Regions from separate parts of the Homo sapiens genome. Here regions 2, 3 and 4 are each linked to region 1. Evidence: promoter capture Hi-C in human tissues and cell types (Jung and others, 2019). All regions are on one chromosome and are shown on one strand. Each heading gives the region's core, a stretch centred on a gene start or on the middle of the fragment in contact. The rest is flanking DNA. Distances are from core to core; before and after follow the strand shown.

The links. Contacts are between HindIII fragments. The study calls those that stand out against the background at their distance.
Region 2: a contact is called between the fragment with the promoter of PDCD1 here and the fragment with the promoter of AGXT in region 1, in 1 of the 25 tissues and cell types used here (psoas muscle).
Region 3: a contact is called between the fragment with the promoter of D2HGDH here and the fragment with the promoter of AGXT in region 1, in 2 of the 25 tissues and cell types used here (lymphoblastoid cells and neural progenitor cells).
Region 4: a fragment that was not itself captured here is called in contact with the fragment with the promoter of AGXT in region 1 in 3 of the 25 tissues and cell types used here (heart right ventricle, hippocampus and spleen).

The regions. Positions count from the first base shown.
Region 1 is chr2:240,867,567-240,870,082 of GRCh38, reverse strand. AGXT (alanine--glyoxylate aminotransferase) reads right to left here and starts at 1,259. Exons shown (of 11, transcript NM_000030.3): 1 at 1,053-1,259; 2 at 721-913. The coding sequence starts at 1,217. RefSeq lists an enhancer at 1,240-1,740. The HindIII fragment of the contact is 24,692 bases long and covers 1-2,516 here.
Region 2 is chr2:241,857,634-241,860,149 of GRCh38, reverse strand. It overlaps PDCD1 (programmed cell death 1), which reads left to right and starts at 1,256. Exons shown (of 5, transcript NM_005018.3): 1 at 1,256-1,387. The coding sequence starts at 1,312. It overlaps LOC124908032 (a long non-coding RNA gene), which reads right to left and starts at 1,078. Exons shown (of 2, transcript XR_007088436.1): 1 at 73-1,078. RefSeq lists an enhancer at 1,088-2,050. The HindIII fragment of the contact is 28,999 bases long and covers 1-2,516 here.
Region 3 is chr2:241,733,375-241,735,890 of GRCh38, reverse strand. It overlaps D2HGDH (D-2-hydroxyglutarate dehydrogenase), which reads right to left and starts at 1,261. Exons shown (of 10, transcript NM_152783.5): 1 at 1,196-1,261; 2 at 375-758. The coding sequence starts at 666. RefSeq lists an enhancer at 195-434 and silencers at 475-584, 595-1,644, 1,685-1,734. The HindIII fragment of the contact is 17,644 bases long and covers 1-2,516 here.
Region 4 is chr2:241,485,478-241,487,993 of GRCh38, reverse strand. All of the region lies in intron 21 of FARP2 (FERM, ARH/RhoGEF and pleckstrin domain protein 2), which reads right to left. Among named protein-coding and RNA genes, the nearest start is that of MIR3133, 8.8 kb to the right of the region's middle. The HindIII fragment of the contact is 9,439 bases long and covers 1-2,516 here.

The sequences.
Region 1 (2,516 bases), core at 10-2,509:
AAAAGGGAAGCCATATACCACAGGCATCTGAGCCTGCGTGCCCTGATGTCCACTTGGGGTCCTGGCCTCTGCCGACCCTGGGTCCCCTTGAAAAGTTTGTGGACTTGGGGTTGGGACCCTCTTGGCTGTTGCGGTCGCGTATTAACCAGCATGGCCATTGTGGAGCTCACCAAGCTGATGTCCCTCAATGCCACAATCAATCATTAAACCCAGGGCACACTCCTGCTCCTGTGTCTCTCCCAGAAAAGTGTACTCCGGAGGCGAATACTCTGCCCATACCTCCATATTTTGTGTATCACATCAAGATTCCAGAAGGAAGGCTGCTGAGATTTGAGGGGAGGCTTCAGCTTCTGAAACCCCACCCTGTCACAAAGCAGAGCTGGTGCCTGGGGCCCTGGACAGCGGCCGGGGCTCTCAGGAGTGTGTGCTGGGACCAGAGGCTTCCCTGTAGTTCCGTCCTGCACATGCTCCAGAAACAGCTCAAGGAGACTGGGGGGATCGGGGCACCTGTGCTGCTCCCAGCCCTATCAGAGTCAGGCCTCATGAGTGCCCGACACCGCCTGGAGGAGGCAGTGGGCTGGCAGGAGGTTCGTGCGCACAGGGCCACAAGGTGGGTAAGCGCTCACCCAGGAACGGGGGCTGCCAGCTTCAAACAGAGGGAGGCCAGGGAGGCCTTGAAGGATGGATCCAGGGCCATCCCCACCTGGGCCTCTCCCTTACCTATGCGCTCCCCGATGTCCACGGCTCGCTGCCCCCAAATGCCATTGGCCCCAACCAGGAAGGAGTCCCCAGGCTCCAGCACATTGACCAGGGCGGCCTCCAGGGCACAGTGTCCCGAGCCAGAGATGACCAGTGTGAGTGGGTTCCTGGTCTGGAACACGTACTGGATGCCTTCCTTGATCTCGTCCATGATCTGCATGCGGGTGGTATAGGGTGAGACCCAGGCTCCCCGCCTCCCCAAGTGAGGAGGCAGTGACCCCCTTCCCTCGTCCACGATCTGTGGGTGGGAACATGGGTGAGACCCAGGCCCCCCGAGTGACCCCCACTCCTACCTGGTACATATCCTTGCTCATGGACCCGATCATCTGCAGCCCCCCGGCTGCCATGATGCGAGGAGGCAGGTTGGAAGGACCAGGCCCCAGCAGGAGCTGGTTGGGGATGGAGAGGGGCTTGAGCAGGGCCTTGGGGGGGGTCACCAGCAGCTTGTGAGAGGCCATGGTCCGCACCCAACCTGCCGCTCGGGAACCTGGGGCTGCACTGGCCTTGGCCAAAGCCTGGAATATTTCCCAGCAGGGCGGACACAGAGGTGAGAGGTGAGGATTGGTGGATGGGCTTCCGTGGCAGCCCTGCCTTTTGTTCCCTGAGGCTTATCTGTGCTTGTGCTGCGGGTCACGGCCAGGCAGCAGGGGACGAAGCCCTCAGGCAGAGGGAGCCCCCAGGGCTGAGTGACAGAAAAACAGAGTGTGACAAAGCTGTCCTCACCCCAGCCCTCCTCGCTCCCACTCTGAGTCCTGCACGTCCAGCCCCTCTTATTCTGCTTAGCTCAGGGGTGAGAGAAGTGTTTCTTAAAGGGTCGGAGCACAGATAATTGAGGCTTGGCAGGCCCTGTGGTCTATGTTGCAACAACTCAACCCTGCTGCGTGCTTGCAAAGCAGCTGCCAGAGGTGTGGGCGTGTTCCTATAAAACTTTATTTACAAAAAGCAGGTGGCAGGCCAGATTGGGCCCATGGACTGTGGTTTGCTGACCCTGGCGCAGCTGATGGGAAGGCTTGTAAACCAAAAATAAAATTCGAAGGCCCCCCAGCAACCATCTGAATGGGGTTCCCTGTCCGCCAGGGTGCTCTAAACTTTAACCCGGAAGACGTTCAGGCCATGCCACATCATAACCCCCAGCATTAACATCGACATAGACCTTAAGTCTGATAGGAAGCATTTACCATCTATTTTCTCTCTAAATCCCGCTACCTGAAGGCATCATCTGCTCCCTGCAACCCCTATTTCATAACCCAGACACTCCTTTCTGCTGATAATAATTCTTCAGTCAGTTGCCAATCAAAATATGTTTAAATCTACCTATGACCTGGAAGCCCCCCAATTCAAGTTGTCCCGCCCTTCCAGATGGAACCAATGTAAATCTCCCATGTATTGATTGATGCCTCATATCTCCCTAAAATGTATAAAAGCAAGCTGTGCCCCGACCACCTTGGGCCCTTGTGGTCAGGGGTGCACCCTTGAGCTTGGCAAGGATGTCCTCCCTCCTGAGGCTGTACCACGGGTGCATCCTTAGCCTTGGCAACAAAAACTTTCTAAATTAATTGAGACCTGTTTGAGGTACTTTTTGGTTTACAGGCTCAATTTAGCAAGCAAACCTGCATGGTATACAGACACACACAAGGCAGGGGTTGCACAGTGAGTTTCAGCATGCTGCATTCCAGAGATGTATAGAAATTCTAGTTATGTATAAGTTTTAGGTTGAAAAGAGGCCTGGAACCAGGTGCCAACTTTAGATAATAGGG
Region 2 (2,516 bases), core at 7-2,506, 990 kb before region 1:
GGCCCCCCGCCAAGCCCACCTGGCCAGCTGGGCCCCCCCCACCTCCCCACCAAGCCACCCACACAGCCTCACATCTCTGAGACCCGGGAGTGGCCCTTTGTTCATAAACGAGAGCTTCCTCGCCGTGGCCGCGCCTCGCAGACATCATCTTTGATGCTCTTTTTCCACTGTTTCGGTGCTTTAATGTTTTCCCTTCAGAGCCGGGCCGAGTGTCTCTCGGAGCCAGGCAGCCGCGCCAGCTGTCAGGCGGTTTCTAGCCTCGCTTCGGTTATTTTAAGCTGATGAGCCTGACGCATCTCATCACTAATATCAGCAGTTTCATTTCTCCTGTTTTCCATTCGCTGTAATAAAATGCTCAGCACAGAATACAAGGAGATAAGCAAGCCATTTCACAAACGCCGGGCCGCCAGCCAGGCCCAGGCACTGGACCCCCTGAACCACCCCACCCTGGCACGAGTGGGCTGGAGGGCAGGGCCCCGGGGAAGAAGGTCAAGGCTGGAAGGGGAGGTCAGCCTCACAGCCAGCCCCTGCCACCGCCCCAGCCCCCCCGTCAGGCTGTTGCAGGCATCACACGGTGGAAAGATCTGGAACTGTGGCCATGGTGTGAGGCCATCCACAAGGTGGAAGCTTTGAGGGGGAGCCGATTAGCCATGGACAGTTGTCATTCAGTAGGGTCACCTGTGCCCCAGCGAAGGGGGATGGGCCGGGAAGGCAGAGGCCAGGCACCTGCCCCCAGCAGGGGCAGAGGCTGTGGGCAGCCGGGAGGCTCCCAGAGGCTCCGACAGAATGGGAGTGGGGTTGAGCCCACCCCTCACTGCAGCCCAGGAACCTGAGCCCAGAGGGGGCCACCCACCTTCCCCAGGCAGGGAGGCCCGGCCCCCAGGGAGATGGGGGGGATGGGGGAGGAGAAGGGCCTGCCCCCACCCGGCAGCCTCAGGAGGGGCAGCTCGGGCGGGATATGGAAAGAGGCCACAGCAGTGAGCAGAGACACAGAGGAGGAAGGGGCCCTGAGCTGGGGAGACCCCCACGGGGTAGGGCGTGGGGGCCACGGGCCCACCTCCTCCCCATCTCCTCTGTCTCCCTGTCTCTGTCTCTCTCTCCCTCCCCCACCCTCTCCCCAGTCCTACCCCCTCCTCACCCCTCCTCCCCCAGCACTGCCTCTGTCACTCTCGCCCACGTGGATGTGGAGGAAGAGGGGGCGGGAGCAAGGGGCGGGCACCCTCCCTTCAACCTGACCTGGGACAGTTTCCCTTCCGCTCACCTCCGCCTGAGCAGTGGAGAAGGCGGCACTCTGGTGGGGCTGCTCCAGGCATGCAGATCCCACAGGCGCCCTGGCCAGTCGTCTGGGCGGTGCTACAACTGGGCTGGCGGCCAGGATGGTTCTTAGGTAGGTGGGGTCGGCGGTCAGGTGTCCCAGAGCCAGGGGTCTGGAGGGACCTTCCACCCTCAGTCCCTGGCAGGTCGGGGGGTGCTGAGGCGGGCCTGGCCCTGGCAGCCCAGGGGTCCCGGAGCGAGGGGTCTGGAGGGACCTTTCACTCTCAGTCCCTGGCAGGTCGGGGGGTGCTGTGGCAGGCCCAGCCTTGGCCCCCAGCTCTGCCCCTTACCCTGAGCTGTGTGGCTTTGGGCAGCTCGAACTCCTGGGTTCCTCTCTGGGCCCCAACTCCTCCCCTGGCCCAAGTCCCCTCTTTGCTCCTGGGCAGGCAGGACCTCTGTCCCCTCTCAGCCGGTCCTTGGGGCTGCGTGTTTCTGTAGAATGACGGGTCAGGCTGGCCAGAACCCCAAACCTTGGCCGTGGGGAGTCTGCGTGGCGGCTCTGCCTTGCCCAGGCATCCTTGGTCCTCACTCGAGTTTTCCTAAGGATGGGATGAGCCCCATGTGGGACTAACCTTGGCTTTACGACGTCAAAGTTTAGATGAGCTGGTGATATTTTTCTCATTATATCCAAAGTGTACCTGTTCGAGTGAGGACAGTTCTTCTGTCTCCAGGATCCCTCCTGGGTGGGGATTGTGCCCGCCTGGGTCTCTGCCCAGATTCCAGGGCTCTCCCCGAGCCCTGTTCAGACCATCCGTGGGGGAGGCCTTGGCCTCACTCTCCCGGATCGAGGAGAGAGGGAGCCTCTTCCTGGGCTGCCCGTGACCCTGGGCCCTCTGTGTACACTGTGACCACAGCCCGCTCCTGGACCCTCTGTGCCCGGCTGGCCCTCTGTGCCCAGCCAGCCTGCACCTGGGGATGCCAAGGCCTGGGGAGGGTGGTTTCACCCAGGCCAAGCCTAAGACAGTCCCTCTGGGCCCTGCTGGGTACCGGGGTGTGACACCACTGGGAGGACAAGATGAGGGGCACCCCTGGGGCCGCCCTGACACCCCCTCGAGGCTCCTGCCCCGGGGGTCCTGGTGCCCCTTCACTGTGGCAGGCGACTGGGGGTTCCCCACCTCGGCCCCTCTCCCGGGGCCTGCTCCCCGGCACCTGAGGCAGCATCCTTGTCAGGGCCGTGCCTTCCTGCCTCAGCGCCACCTCTT
Region 3 (2,516 bases), core at 12-2,511, 870 kb before region 1:
CTAGGGAGGCTGAGGCAGGCAAATCGCTTGAACCCGGGAGGCAGAGGTGGCAGTGAGCCGACGTCGCGCCACTGCACTCCGGCCTGGCGACAGAGTGAAACTCCGTGACTGCACTCCAGCCTGGCGACAGAGTGAGACTCCGTCTTAAAAAAAAGAAAAAACAAAACAACAACAACAACAAAACTTGGGTTGTTCTAAGCGACTCGTTCGTGGTCATTCATTCCAGCAGCCTGTGGCGGTGCACACGCCCCTCTCAGCGCAGCCAGGGGCTGGCACCCCCATCCAGGTTGTTCTCAGCCCGCTTTGAAGCCTCCACGGGAAGGCGCAGCGGAGCAGGGACGCGGAAACGCCGCAGCTTCCCAAGCCTCACCCACCTCGCAGCGTCCGCAACCAGTCCACGTTGGGAGCCTGCAGCGCTTCCGGGTCCGTGACGACCCCGCCGGGCACGATGCGCTCAAAGGCGGCCAGGTCCTGCTTAGACACCGTGGAGAACGGCAAGCGCCGCACGGGGTAGCGCTCCCGGGTCAGCGGCACCTCGGGGGTCCCCGGGGCGGAGCAGCAGCCTCTGCGGGCCAGGGGGCCAACCGGCCGACCCCAAGAACCCGCGGCTCCCGGAGCACCCCGCAACAGCCACGCGGGCCACGCCAGAGGCCGACGGGGCAGCATCGCCGCCGGGACGGAGACCTCGGGCTCCTCCTTGGTGGGGGGCCGGTACTCAGGGCCCGGAGGGGAAGGGCAGGGAGCCGCTGGCTGCGCGCCTGGAAGTGGCCAAGGGTAATTTCATGTTTTATGCACGTTGTACAAATTGAAACACGCTTGCAGAAGCAGGGAGGGGGCAGGAGGGCAGCGAAGGGAAGGCTCCGAGCACCCGGGCCCTCCCCCTGCCCGGGCCGCAACCCCGCGAGCGCGCGAAGCCCCACGCAGCAGGCCTGGACTTAGCGACGCGCAGGCTCGGGGCGGCCTCGCCGGGACCTTGCCCAGGACCCCGTTCCTCCGAGCTCGCCCCCCGAGGGGATCCCGCGGACGCGCGCGCGTGTTCCACGCGGTCACGTGACGAGCTGCAGCGCCGTCCCCCTCCCCCCACAGGCACCGACTGGCTGACGGCGCCCGAGATCGCGCCCCGCCACCCCGACCCGCGGCTGAACCGCAGACCGGGACCCTCAGCCCAGCGCTCCGCGCGGCCGCGCGCACGCACCCACGATCACGTCCCGAGCTCCAACCCGCAGCGCCCGCCGCAGGCCCAGAGCCGCCGAGCCGGAGTGGGCGGGGCGACGCCGCGCCTGCGCATTGACGGCTCCGCCCAGCGGCCGAAGCCCCGCCCCGCGCGCCTAACGGGCCCCGCCCCGCCTGCCCTCCAGGCCCAGCCCTGCGCGCCTACAGTCCCCGCCCCGCCGTCCAAGCCCCGCCCCGACTGGCACCGGAGGCTCGACGGCCACCGCCTCGTCCTGCGTTTCCTGAGGGCCTCCGGCGCGCCGGCTGTCGGGCGCATCCCTCCAGGTAGAGAAGGGACTAGGCTGAGCGCAGCCCAAGACGCCCAAGCAGCAGCTGGAGGGTTCTCCAGAACGAGGCCCGGGACGTGGGCTCGGCCGAGGGACCTGGGGGCCGGCCCGCTCCTCCGAGGCCGAGCCCAGGGGGCGCCCCTTTCCCCAGCGGCCTCCCCAGCTCCTGCACGGACCACCCCTCCTGGGTCCCCAGCCTTAGCTTAGGGGGCAGCTGCCTCCTGCAGGTGTTTTCTTGCCTCCCTGTCCCTTCTGCCTGTTCAGCCCTCCGTGCCCTCAAACCCTTTGCACACCTGGGGAGCTCCTGCCCTCCTGACGCAGTAACTGCTGTCCCGAGGAGCCTCCCGGCCTGGGATCCCCTGCCTGAGGCATCGCCAGCACTTGTTTTGTGTTTTTTTGAGACAGGGTCTAGCTCTGTTGCCCAGGCTGGAGTTCTGGGGTTGATCTCAGCTCACTGCAACCTCTGCCTCCCGAGCTCAAACCATCCTCCCACCTCGGCCACCCAAGTAGCTGGGACTACGGGCGTGCACCACCACACCCGGCTAATTTTTTGTTGTTGTTGTATTTTTGTAGAGATGAGGTCTCATGTGCTGCCCAGGCTGGTCTCGAACTCCTGGACTCAAGCGATCCGCCCGCGTCGGCCTCCCAAAGCACTTGTTACTTCAGCTCACCCAATTCCATAGAACCCTAGCGGGTGCAGAGGATGCCAATCTCTGAGCAGATGAGGGCAGAGAGCAGGAGACCACACTTGGCCCGAGGCAGGACTGCGGAGCTGTGCAAGAGGTGGAGGCTACGCCCGTGACAGCAGATGGGTCCTGGTAGTCACACAGAAAACCGGCGAGCTGGATTTGTCCTGGTGATGAGGCTCTGGAGCAGCAGTTGCAAGGAGTCATTCCTGTCCTCCTTAACCACATCCCCAGAGGCCACTCACCTTCTTCCCAGGTGAATCATTCATACAACCCTGGAAAGGAGACATCCACCTGGCCCTTCCTACCTGGCTGGCCCTTGCTCTGCAGA
Region 4 (2,516 bases), core at 12-2,511, 620 kb before region 1:
GGTGGATCACGAGGTCAGGAGATCGAGACCATCCTGCCTAACACGGTGAAACCCCGTCTCTACTAAAAAATACAAAAAATTAGCCAGGCGTGGTGGCGGGCGCCTGTAGTCCCAGCTACTCAGGAAGCTGAGGTAGGAGAATGGCGTGAACCCGGGAGGTGGAGCTTGCAGAGAGCCAAGATGGCACCACTGCACTCCAGCCTGGGCGACAGAGCGATTCCATCTCAAAAAAAAAAAAAAAAAAAAAGAGTAGGCTAGGCTAAGCTATGACATCAGAGAGGTTAAGTGTATTAAATGCATTTTCTTTTCTTTCTTTTTTTTTTTTTTGAGAGGGAGTCTTGTTCTGTCACCCAGGCTGGAGTGCAGTGGTGTGATCTCGGCTCAGTGCAACCTCCGCCTCCCAGGTTCAAGTGATTCTTGTGCTTAGCCTCCCGAGTAGTTGGGACTACAGGTGCCCACCACCACGCCTGGCTAATTTTTGTATTTTTAGTAGAGACAGGGTTTCGCCCTGTTGGCCAGGCTGGTCTTAAACTCCTGACCTTAGGTGATTCACCCACCTCAGCCTCCCAAAGTGCTGGGATTACAGACGTGAGCCACCGTGCCCTGTTAAATGCATTTTTGACTATACTATTTTCCTCTTACAATGGGTTTATCAGGGCATAGCCCCATCATAAGTTGAGGAGTGTCTGTTTCAATTCACACCTTCAACAAGCATTTGCTGGGTTCCCTATATGTGCCAGATGCCATTCTAGAGTAAGAGAAACAGAACCCATCAAGATGGAGTTTAAATTCTACAAGGTAAAACTAAATTGTAGGCAAAGTAAAAAGCAGTTACTGAGAAAATAATTTGTGACTTAATAGTGTTGGTGAGCATTATCATATAAACATTTCACTAATGTGTACAAAAAACTCACAGACCAATGGAGACCAGAGTGACCAGCACGCTGAGTGATTCCTGAGAGGAAAAGCATGGAATGCCAGGACACAGGGGCCAGGCTGGCCTCACCGACAGTCCGCAGGGATGCAAAGTGAAATGATGGGGCTGCTCGATGGGGCTGCTTACCTTACCCACTTGGGAAGAGTAAGAGAGACAGGTGCCTAGCACTTTCCATGGTGGAGGGAAAGATGCATGTTTAGACCTAGCTCCTGCAGGTGGGAAGGTCAGCTGGCGCAGGTGCTCCAACAGCAATTTAGCAGGAGTGCCCAAGGCCGTAAACACCTTTGCTCAGACAAATCTACATTTTGGAATTGATCTGAAGGACATAATTAAGGATGTGCAGAAAGACAGAGATCCAACAATGTTACAGTCCTCAACAACCAGCCACAGCCAAGCGTCCAGTGACAGGTGACTAGTTAAGTGAACTGGGGCTGCCATGAAAGGAAAGGAAAACCAGTGTCCTGACAAAACAGCCCGTGGGTGATGGCAACCATGCAGCAGATGCCTGCAGCCATCACTGCTGAGTGGGTACGATGATAGAGTTCTTTTTCTTGTTTCTTTTCTCTGTGTTTTTTTTTTTTTTTTTTTTTTTTTTGAGACGAGGTCTCACTCTGTCACTGGGGCTGGAGTGCAGTGGTACGATCACGGCTCACTACAGCCTTGACCTCCTGGGCTTAAGTGATTCTCCCATCTCAGCCTCCCAAGTAGCTGGGACTACAGGCACACACCACTTTTGCTCAGCTAATTAAAAAAAAAAAAAAAAAAAAAAGATTTTTGGAGATTTGGCTTCGCCATGTTCCCCAGGCAGGTCTCAAACTCTCAGCTTCAAGCGATCCTACCATCTTGACCTCCTAAAGTGCTGGCATTACAGGCGTGAGCCACAGCAACTGGCCAGTGATGAGTGATTTCTGTCTTATACTTTCAATTATTTTTTTCTATAATAAAGGTGTAATTTTTAAAAGTATACTTTAAAACAAATGGGGTCTGCTTCCGGTGGTGGCAGATGAGCTAATTCAAACTGACCTCTTCTTGCTGAGGGCCTGAGAAGTGGAATTAAATTTTACAAACACCTGCCTGAGGGTTTTGGCGCTCATTGTCAGGAGGAGGCAGTGCAGAGGGATAAGACCCTTGAAGAAAGAACAGGGAAAGAGGACCCCAGGGAGGGAGGACCCCACTGGGGGAGGAAGGACTCCAGGGAGGGAGGACCCCAGGGAGAGAGGATCTCAGGGAAGGAGGACCCTACTGGGGGAGGGCCCTGGGGGAGGAAGACCATGGGGAGGGAAAATCCCAGGGAGGGAGGACCACAGGGAGCAAAGGAGGACCCCAGGAAGGGAAGATCCTAGGGAAGGAGGACCCCAGGGAGGGAGATCCCAGGAAGGGAAGATCACAGGGAGTGAGGGAGGACCTCAGGGAGGGAGGACTCCAGGGAGGGAATATCCCAGGGAGAGAGGACTACAGGGAGCAAGGGAGGACTCCAGGAAGGGAAGATCCTAGGGAAGGAGGACCCCAGGGAGGGAAGATCCCAGGAAGGGGAGATCACAGGGAGTGAGGGAGGACCTCAGGGAGGGAGGGAGAAGCC